2 separate regions of the Homo sapiens genome follow, and region 2 is linked to region 1. The links are contacts of gene promoters, found by promoter capture Hi-C in blood cells and fetal thymus (Javierre and others, 2016). All regions are on one chromosome and are shown on one strand. The core of a region is centred on a gene start or on the middle of the fragment in contact, and the rest is flanking DNA. Distances in the headings are between cores, read along the strand shown.

Region 1 (5,134 bases), core at 2,635-5,134:
GCTCAGCATCAACCCAGGCCTCCCTGAGATGAGAGAAGACCCCAGCCAGCTCTCCCTCCCTTTCCCAGGCTTAGGAGCACTCCTTTGGGGAGTCCAGGTGGCCTTGCCCAGCCACCTGTCCCAGAGCCTGCTCCCACTCTGCCTCTGTTGAGCCTGGGGCATTTGCCTTCTGACCCCCAGAGCGTCCCCTCTGACCCGTTGGGCTCTCAGGAAGCAGGCCGTGTAGTTGCTCTGAATTTCCCGGTGAAGCCGTCTTTCCTCCGCTTCTTCCCCATTCACCGATATTTGACATTTATTGAGGGGCCACAGTGTGCCGGGCCTTGCTCTGGGAATACAGTCAGTAATGAAGGAGACAAAGTCCTGCCCTGGGTTAGGGCCCAGCCATATGACCTCATTTGAGTGAAGAATAAAGACATTCAGCAAACAACCTCACTAATATAAAATTATAGAGAGGCTGGGCGTGGTGGCTCACGCCTGTAATCCCAGCACTTTGGGATGCCCAGGCCAGCGGATCACTTGAGCACAGGAGTTCAAAACCAGCCTGGCCAACATGGTGAAACCCCGTCTCTACTAAAAATATAAAAATTAGCTGGGCATGGTGGCATTGCCTGTAATGCCAGCTACTTGCGAGGGTTGAGGTGGGAGGGTGGCTTGAGCCCAGGAGGTCGAGGCCTCAGTGAGCCTAGATTGTACCACTGCACTCCAGCCTGGGCGACAAAGTGAGACCCTGTCTCAAAATAAAATTATAGAGATAAGTCCTGTATCAGAATGCAGTGTAATTCAATGAGAGGATAATATGCTGATTCATCCTAATTATGACTTACGAGGCAGAGTGTGGGTGTGGTGAACAGAGAAGGAATTAGGAGGTGCAAAGGCCCTGGGGCAGACAGGTAGGCAGGTACCAGAATGTAACAGTTGCCATATTACTCACACTTCTGCTCCAAGCATATACCTAAGAGAAATGAAAACATGTCCCCATAAAACCTAGTACATGAATTTTTTATTTTTTTGAAACAGGGTCTCGCTCTGTCACCCAGGCTGGAGTGTAGTGACATGATTGCGGCTCACTGCAGTCCAAGCTTGTAGGCTCAAGCGATTCTCCTGCCTCAGCCTCGCGAGTAGCTGGGACCACAGCTGTGCACCACCACACCCAGCTAATTTTTTTTTTTTTTTGTATTTTTTGTAGATATGGGGTCTCGCTATGTTTCCCAAGCTGGTCTCCAACTCCTGGGCTCAAGTGATCTGCCTGCTTCAGCCTCCTAGTGTGCTGGGATTACAGGCGTGAGCCACCGTGCCCAGCCCAATTTGTACATGAATTTTTATAGCATCATTATTCATAGTAGCCAAAAATGAAACAACCCAAATGCCTATTAACTGCTGAATCAACAAAATGTATATCCAGACAATGAGTATTAACCAACCACAATAAGTAATGAAGTTCTGATACGGTTGAAAACATAGTTGAATCTTGAAAACATTATGCCAAGTTAAAGAAGCCAGTCACAGATGACCACATATTGTATGATTCCATTCCTGTGAAGGGTCCACAATAGACAGGTCCATAGACACCAGGTGGCTTAAATAACAGAAATTTATTTTCTCACAGTTCTGGACGCTAGAAGTCCAAGATCAAGGAATTGGCAGAGTTGGTTTCATTCTAAGGCCTTGCTCCTGGGCTTGTAGATAGCCATCTTCTCCCTGTGTCTTCACGTGCTCTTCTTCTGTGTGACTGTGTCCTTTTTAAACATTTATTGTGGGCCAGGTGCGGGGGCTCACGCCTGTAATCCCAACACTTTGGGAGGCAGAGGTGGGCAGATCATGAAGTCAGGAGTTCCAGACCAGCCTGACCAACATGGTGAAACCCCGTCTCTACTAAAAATACAAAAATTAGCCAGGTGTGGTGGTGCGCAGCTGTAATCCCAGCTACTCAGGAGGCTGAGGCAGGAGAATCACTTGAACCTGGGAGGTGAAGGTTGCAGTGAGCCAAGATGGCACCACCACACTCCAGCCTGGGTGACAGAGGGAAAGTGTCTCAAAAAAAAAAAAAAGTATTGTGGTCAGGCATGGTGGCTCACGCCTATAACCCCAATACTTCGGGAGGCTCTGAGGCAGGTGGATCAACTGAGGTCAGAAGTTCAAGACCAGCCTGACCAACATGGTGAAACCCCGTCTCTACTAAATACAAAAACTTAGCCAGGCGTGGTGGCATACACCTGTCATCCCAGCTACTTGGGAGGCTGAGGCAGGAGAATTGCTTGAACCCGGGAGGTAGAAGTCTCAGTGAGCTGAGATTGTGCCACTGCACTCCAGCCTATGCAACAAGAGCAAAACTCCGTCTCAAAAATAATTTTTAAAAATAAAAATTTATTGTTTATTTATTTTTTGAGACAAGGTCTTGCTCTGGTGCTCAGGCTGGAGTGCAGTGGCACAATCACGGCTCACTGAAACCTCCACCTCCAGGAGTTCAAGACCAGCCTGGGCAACATGGTGAAACCCATCTCTACAAAAACTAGACAGCTGTGGTCTCAGCTACCCAGGAGACTGAGGTGGGAGGGTCACTTGAGCCTAGGAGGTAGAGGTTGCAGTGAGCTGTGACTGCACCACTGCACTCCAGCCTAGGTGACAGAGTGAGACCCTGTCTCAAAAAAAAGGGGGGGGGGATACCAGTCTTAACTGGATGAGGTACAATGTGACTTCATTTTACCTTAATCACCCTTTAAAGACCCTGTCTCCAAAGACAGTCACCTTATGAGATACTGAGTGTTAGGACTTAAACATATGCGTTTGGTTGCGGGGGGACATGATTCAGTCATATCAAGGTGGGGAATGGAGTGGTGTAACTGCTGATGGGTGTGCGTCTCCTTTTTGGGGTGGTTAAAATGTTCTGGAATTAGTGGCAATTAATGTGCATCTCTGTGAATATACTAAAAACCACTGAATTGCCCAGCCAGAAAGGATAAACTTTTGCCCTGGGGCAGGAAGAAGGCTGGCATGCAGAGAGAGGAGAAAGGGGGGCTGGATGAGCTGGCCTGCTAGCGGGGGCCCCAATACTACATAAGACCTTGCCCTTCTCCACAGTATCTGGTGTTAAATCTCATTATGAGGACCCTTTCAGCCCGGGGTTGGGATTGGAAGTGAGACATTGAAACTTCAAGGGCTGGGTTCTGGCCCGGGTGGGGATTTGCCATGGAGCAAAATAGCCTCTTGCAGCACATGCGGGGTTTCCTGTGCCGGGCACTGTCCTAAGTCCTTCTCAACTCTTTCGTCATTGAGTTCTCATAGCAGTCCAGTGAGCCAGGTACCATTCCTCTCTTCAGTCCACGGTGCCAGGTCACTTGGCTAGGGTCCCACTGAGAGTTCGAAGGAAGCCAGGCTAGAGCTCAGGCCTCTCACCAGCTGGAGGTCTTTCCCAGACTCTCTAAGGTGAGAGTTGGTGAATGGTGTCAGCCTGGGCCTGGATGAGTGACCCACGGTGCTCAGTGAATTTCAGGAACAGAGCCAGGGGATGCTGCGGTCAGGGGTGTCTTGATGGGGAAGAAGCAGGGCTGGGCGCTCACCTGGCTTCCCCGGACCTGCAGGTCCAGCCTCGCTCTCCTTCCCCCGAGCACCTCTAGCCCAAGGCCTGCCCACTTGCTGGAGCTGGCCCCTTGGCAAGGCTGCTGGGAGGGCCCGTGCTGCCAGGGCGGTCAGGGTCAGTGTCAGAGGTGCCTAAGGGACGCCCAAGGGGGTGCCCAGGTGGCAAGGTGCCTGTATGCTCAGGGAAGCCACGTCCCAGCTCGCGGGTGGGTGCAGCAGAGGCCCACGTGACCTTGCTGCTGACATTCCTCAGAGGCCATGTGGCCCCAACTGGCAGCGACAGCTGCAGACGGGCTGAACCAGCTTTGTTCCCAGGGTGGCGCCTGCTCTCCATCCAGGCCCCATTCCGGCTCCCACCCGACGCTGCTTTTGTTCCCACGTTTCGGGGGGCAGCTGGCACTGTGATTCCTGCCCCATGAGTGCCTAGAGGCACGGAGCCACCAGGGATCACCCCACGTGGGACACAGGGCTTGGGGAGGATGGGGCAGGACCAGACCAAGCAGCAGATCGAGAAGGGGCTCCAGCTGTACCAGTCCAACCAGACAGAGAAGGCATTGCAGGTGTGGACAAAGGTGCTGGAGAAGAGCTCGGACCTCATGGGGCGCTTCCGCGTGCTGGGCTGCCTGGTCACAGCCCACTCGGAGATGGGCCGCTACAAGGAGATGCTGAAGGTGGGTGTACCCGGCCTGGGGGCGTTCGAGGGTCAGGCTGGGGCCGGATGTCTCCCAGGCTCCCCAGTCCCCTCTCGGCCTCCTCGGGCTCCCCTGTGTCCCACAGGCTGGCAGCCAGGGCCCGAGGCTCTGAATTTATATCTAAGGCCCTGGGTCTTAGATACTGAGTCTTGGCATCAGATTCAGGCCTGTGGCCTTGAACTGTGGTGCCCGAGTCTCTGAGACTGAGGTTCTCCAGCCTCAGGGTCGAGGGTTTGTGGGTCTCAAGCCCATTGTAGGTTTCAGCCTTCCTGTCTGGTGTTCTGTGTCTGAGCCTGGCGGGGTGTGGGCTCCAGGGTTGCGGCTGGGGGTGGGTGGGTGGTGGAGACTCCAGATCTGAGGCTTGGGATAGAAGGTGAAGGCTGCAAGCCTGAGCTTGGGAGGTGAGGCTGGGGTGTAGGGAAGGTAGCTGAGGCTGGCGGGTAGAAGCTCTGGGTCTGAAAAGAAGCTTTGGGATCTGCTGCTTTGGGTGTGAGGCTGGGGGGTGGGTGTGGGGCCTCCAGGTCTGAGCCTGCAGTGCAGGCTGGGGTCCAAGGCTCAGAGTCCAGGCTGAGCACCACCTGCCCACCGTCGCTGTGTGCAGTTCGCTGTGGTCCAGATCGACACGGCCCGGGAGCTGGAGGATGCCGACTTCCTCCTGGAGAGCTACCTGAACCTGGCACGCAGCAACGAGAAGCTGTGCGAGTTTCACAAGACCATCTCCTACTGCAAGACCTGCCTTGGGCTGCCTGGTACCAGGGCAGGTGCCCAGCTCGGAGGCCAGGTCAGCCTGAGCATGGGCAATGCCTTCCTGGGCCTCAGCGTCTTCCAGAAGGCCCTGGAGAGCTTCGAGAAGGCCCTGCGCTATG
Region 2 (5,020 bases), core at 2,245-4,744, 590 kb after region 1:
GCCATAAAGGGAGAGGCCCGAGCAGAACTCCAGGCTGTGCCTGGAAGAGTCCCAGGTTTTGCTTGGGAATGGTCCCAGGACTCATGGCAGCAGAGCGAGAGTAACCTCCCAAAAAAGGTTATAAGTTGCAGGACCCCACTATATTGACGTTTAGGACCCAGATAAGAAGATTTCCTTTTTTTTAGTTTTTTTTCTTTCTTTCTTTCTTTTTTTTTTTTTAATGGAATCTTGCTCTGTCACCCAGGCTGGAGTGCAGTGGCATGATCTTGGCTCACTGTAACCTCAGCCTCCGGAGTTCAAGGGATTCTCCTGCCTCAGCCTCCCAAATAGCTGGGATTACAGGCACCCGCCACCAAACCCAGCTGATTTTTGTATTTTTAGTAGAGATGGGGTTTCACCATGTTGGCCAGGCTAGTCTCGAACTCCTGAACTCAAGTGATCTGCCCGCCTGGGCCTCCCAAAGTGCTGGGATTACAGGTGTAAGCCACCACGCCCGGCCAGATAAGAGGATTTTCTAGAGTCCCCTGTCTTACCTCCCAAGTTTTCTCCTTAACAAAATTAGAAAAAAGAGATACAAACTAGCACCCGAAGTAGCTTAAAATCCTGAATAAATGTACATTTAATTGCTCTTGCCAATTGCTTTTGATGATTTATATCAGCATGATGTCCCATTAATAAACCACAGTAACAATGTAACATAGCTAACATGTTATAGTGCATCTTGTGTCAAGCTCCCTGATAACTGCATTCCATGTATCATCTCATTTAAGGTGACAGCAGTTGGTTGTGAGGTGTGGATACTGTTACTCTCCTCACACTGCAGAGTCTTAAGAGACTGAGTTTTAGAAATGTGAAATAATTTGCCTAAGGTGACAAAGCCAGTGAGTGGCTGCTGCAGGACCGGAAGCCATGGTTTTCCCTCCTCCTGTATGGTAATGGTAATAATTATCACAGCTGCCTCTCCCCTTTTAGGCTAGGCCTCATACACTTGTCTTAATCACATTTCCCCATTTGTTTGTGGGATTTTTGTGCGCTTCACTCCTACTCTTACCCCATCCACTTCCTTTTTCAGTTTACCATGGGATCCTTTGTAGAAGGCCAACTGACTGACCATATCTGCCCACTCTCCACCCTAGGGAGGGCCTGACCATAACTACACCAAGGAGAAGATCAAGATCGTAGAGGGAATCTGCCTCCTGTCTGGGGATGATGCTGAGTGGGATGACCTCAAGCAACTGCGAAGCTCACGGGGGGGCCTCCTCCGGGATCATGTATGCATGAAGACAGACACGGTGTCCATCCAGGCCAGCTCTGGCTCCCTGGATGACACAGAGACGGAGCAGCTGTTACAGGAAGAGCAGTCTGAGTGTAGCAGCGTCCATACTGCAGCCACTCCAGAAAGACGAGGCTCTCTGCCAGACACGGGCTGGAAACATGAACGCAAGCTCTCCTCAGAGAGCCAGGTCTAAATGCCCACATTCTCTTCCCTGCCTGCCTGTTCCTTCTCCTTTATGGACGTCTAGTCCTTGTGCTCGCTTACACCGCAGGCCCCGCTTCTGTGTGCTTGTCCTCCTCCTCCTCCCACCCCATAACTGTTCCTAAGCCTTCACCGGAGCTGTTTACCACGTGAGTCCATAACTACCTGTGCACAAGAAATGATGGCACATCACGAGAATTTAGACCTGGATTTTACCATGAACCTCACATCTTGTACTCCATCCTGGGCCCCCTGAAACTGCTTATTCGTGATTCCTCACCAGCGTAGAGCTCCACCTCCCCTTTCCCCAGTACCCTCAGTGCCTGCTTCTCAGTGCTGATGCAGCTGATGACCCAGGACTGCGCTCTGCCCCATCACAGCCAGCATGACTGCTTCTCTGAGAGAACTTGCCCATCAGGGGCTGGGACATGGGGGTGTGGGTAAAGACAGGGATGAAGGATAGAGGCTGAGAGAAGAAGGAAGAATCAGCCCAGCAGGTATGGGCATCTGGGAAACCTCCAGCCTCAAGTGTGTTAGTAACATGAAAAAGCTTTGGGGGGTAGTTGGATCTGGGTGTCTGGTCCATTGCTGGCAGTGGACATTATTCTTGCCCTAAGAGACACTGCCTTTTCAGCAGCAGATACTGGTGAGATGGGGGTGGCTCAGGCTGTTCTTCCTCCTCCTAGAATGTCTGGAGCTGTTTCTACATTCAGATAACTGGGTCCCCTATCACAAGGCTACTGGCTAATAGGAATTCCCTCCTGGTGCCACCACTGGCCAGTACCTTTCCTAAGTCTTTGCTCAAATTAACCAGGTTGTGAGCCAGTGGCTTGAGTGAATGTTAGGCCTTGGGGGCTGAGTCTCTGAAAAGTCTAAGAAGCTCTGCCTAGACCAAATATGGTATACCTCCTGACCCCTCTCTCCCTCATGTCCTGGGATTCTGGGGAAGAGACCTAGAAACAAGCTTTCAAAGAAAAACCAGAAGTTGTCATAAATGGTCAGAAAGAACGATCAGGTTGGAGACTTGGGAAACCCAGGGCCTAAAGAGAAGTATCCATGAGGGTCAAACTTCCTGTTGAACTTCCTATGTTCTTTCTCAAGTGCTCAGGGATCTAAGTTAGTGGACAGCAAGCCTGTGGCTACGGGGTGGTGATGTTCCTCTTCCAGCTGTCCCCTCAGCTAAGGGGCTTAGTTTCCATGTGGGATGCCATCACTTGGTTCATGCTCATTCACACAAAGGGCACGTGTCTCAGCCTGGTATCAGGGAAATTGAGACTTATTTTTGCCCTAAAACGTCTCCCTAGCTGTTCTTCGTGGGGTTTTTTTGTTTGTTTTTTTGCCTAATTTGCTTTTTCTGACCAAGCCTTGTGGCACCAGCAATCTCCAAAGTCCTGTGGTGGGAGGGCTGAATAAATAAAAATACAAAGAGGTGGGTAAGGAGTAGGAAGGTAGAGAGCACCACTGATGAGGCCCTCCTAGCCCATGGCAGACCCAGACCTCTTCTCCCCCAGGAATTAGAAGTGGCAGGAGAGAACAACAGGGGCTGGGAATGGAGGGGAGAATTTCTAGGGGAAGTTTCCTGAGTTGAAACTTCTCCTGTGGTTACTGGTATTGAGAAATCAGCTACCAAAGTGAAAAAGGACAAGATCAATTCTTTTCTAGTCAGTTCTAAGACTGCTAGAGAGAGATACCAGGCCCTTAGCCTTGCTCTCAGTAGCGTCAGCCCCAGTTCTGAGCCTCCCCACATTACACTTAACAAGCAGTAAAGGAGTGAGCACTTTGGGTCCTTAGACTCACGTCTGGGGAGGAAGAGCAAGTAGAAAAGTGGCATTTTCTTGATTGGAAAGGGGGAAGGATCTTATTGCACTTGGGCTGTTCAGAATGTAGAAAGGACATATTTGAGGAAGTATCTATTTGAGCACTGATTTACTCTGTAAAAAGCAAAATCTCTCTGTCCTAAACTAATGGAAGCGATTCTCCCATGCTCATGTGTAATGGTTTTAACGTTACTCACTGGAGAGATTGGACTTTCTGGAGTTATTTAACCACTATGTTCAGTATTTTAGGACTTTATGATAATTTAATATAAATTTAGCTTTTCTTAATCACCTTGCCTGGCTTGGAGTCATGACTAATCCTGCACCTGCTCTGTCTGGCAGACCCATGCTGTGGAAAACCTGCTTACAGACATCACTTTTAAGTCCTTTGTGGATGTGGGCACAGTGAAGAGCAATAAAGAGTGTGAGGTTCCTGCTGGAGTTTTCAGCTCATCTGGAGAAGACAGGTCGAGGCCAGAGTTCCTTGACTGATGAAACCTTTATTTCCTCTGGAAGAGGAATGGTAGATGGGTTTCCTCTTGAGTGCTGACTCTGACTGGTTGGTAGTGGCTGCCTGAGGGCCTATTCGCACCCAATGGGAAGAATGTCATATGGCTAGTGACATCTCTTCTGTGCACTGGAAGGAAATGTCATGGCATGTATACCATGTATCTTCTATTTCTGTTCTAGGTCTTTGTTACAGAACTTTACTTTGCCTTGCAGTGATGGTCACTGGCAAGACTATCTCATGTAGTAAGAAAAGTACTGGAGCTGGGGACATGGAGGGCTAATTCCAGTCCCAGATCTGCCACTAGCTCTGTTTGATCTTAGTCAACTTTCATAGTTAGTCTGAGAGTGGATCAAATTATCACTAGGATTTCATTTATTTTTAAAAGCTGTCTTTTCATAGCTCATCCACTACTTCTCAAGGCTAGAACAAGGAGCTAGGGATCCCTTCTCAGGTTCTCTGGATGTGATATCCCTCAGTGAAAACTGGGAATCATGTTAATCTCAACGCCCGATGTAGAATTTCATGTCAAGTCTCAATAGTTGATTTTCTAAACCACACACCATCTATAGGATAATATCCCCATTCATTCATTCATTCATTCATTCATTCATCTGCTATGGGCTAGGCACTGCCCATGCCTAAACAAAGACATAATCTTACAGAGCTTAGAGTCTAGCAACACCATTACCACCACCATCCCAAAAAAAGACAAAAAATGAAAGTAAGAAAGACTGAAGCTTCTTGTATTTAAGTGACCAGAGATCTGAGTATAAGCTACAGTGTATAATTTTTCTAACTGTAGTAAGGAGTAGGTGTGCCAGAACAAAAACAAGTAGAATAGCCCAAGGATAACCATCCCTCCAACCCCCACTGTTCTCTTTGGGAGGGAAAAAAAAAGCAGAAAAGGAGGACATCTTGGGATAAAACAAAGGTTGGGAATTCCTTGTCTAGTTCTCTGGTATAAAATCTGAAACTAGGGTCAGGCACAGTGGCTACACCAAAGTAATCTCACCACTTTGGGAGGCCAAGACAGAAGTAAGGAGTATTGCTTGAGGCCTGGAGTTCACGATCAGCCTGGGCAACATGACAGGACCATATCTCTACAAAAAAATTTAAAAATATTAGTCAGGTGTGGTAGCTCATGCCTGTAGTCCCAGCTGCTTGGGAGGCTGAGGCAGGAGGATTGCTTGAGCCCAGGAGTTCAAGGTTACAGTG

What was found. Contacts are between HindIII fragments. The CHiCAGO score rates a contact against its expected background, and 5 or more counts as called.
Region 2: a contact is called between a fragment that was not itself captured here and the fragment with the promoter of RAPSN in region 1, in 1 of 17 cell types (naive B cells). The highest score is 5.1, in naive B cells.

Annotation. Positions count from the first base shown.
Region 1 is chr11:47,447,886-47,453,019 of GRCh38, reverse strand. RAPSN (receptor associated protein of the synapse) reads left to right here and starts at 3,884. Exons shown (of 8, transcript NM_005055.5): 1 at 3,884-4,247; 2 at 4,870-5,134. The coding sequence starts at 4,056. The HindIII fragment of the contact is 3,655 bases long and covers 1,082-4,736 here.
Region 2 is chr11:46,855,432-46,860,451 of GRCh38, reverse strand. It overlaps LRP4 (LDL receptor related protein 4), which reads left to right. Exons shown (of 38, transcript NM_002334.4): 38 at 1,137-3,735. The coding sequence ends at 1,469. The region is part of intron 2 of LRP4-AS1 (LRP4 antisense RNA 1); the gene reads right to left. Among named protein-coding and RNA genes, the nearest start is that of LRP4-AS1, 12 kb to the right of the region's middle. The HindIII fragment of the contact is 2,101 bases long and covers 2,444-4,544 here.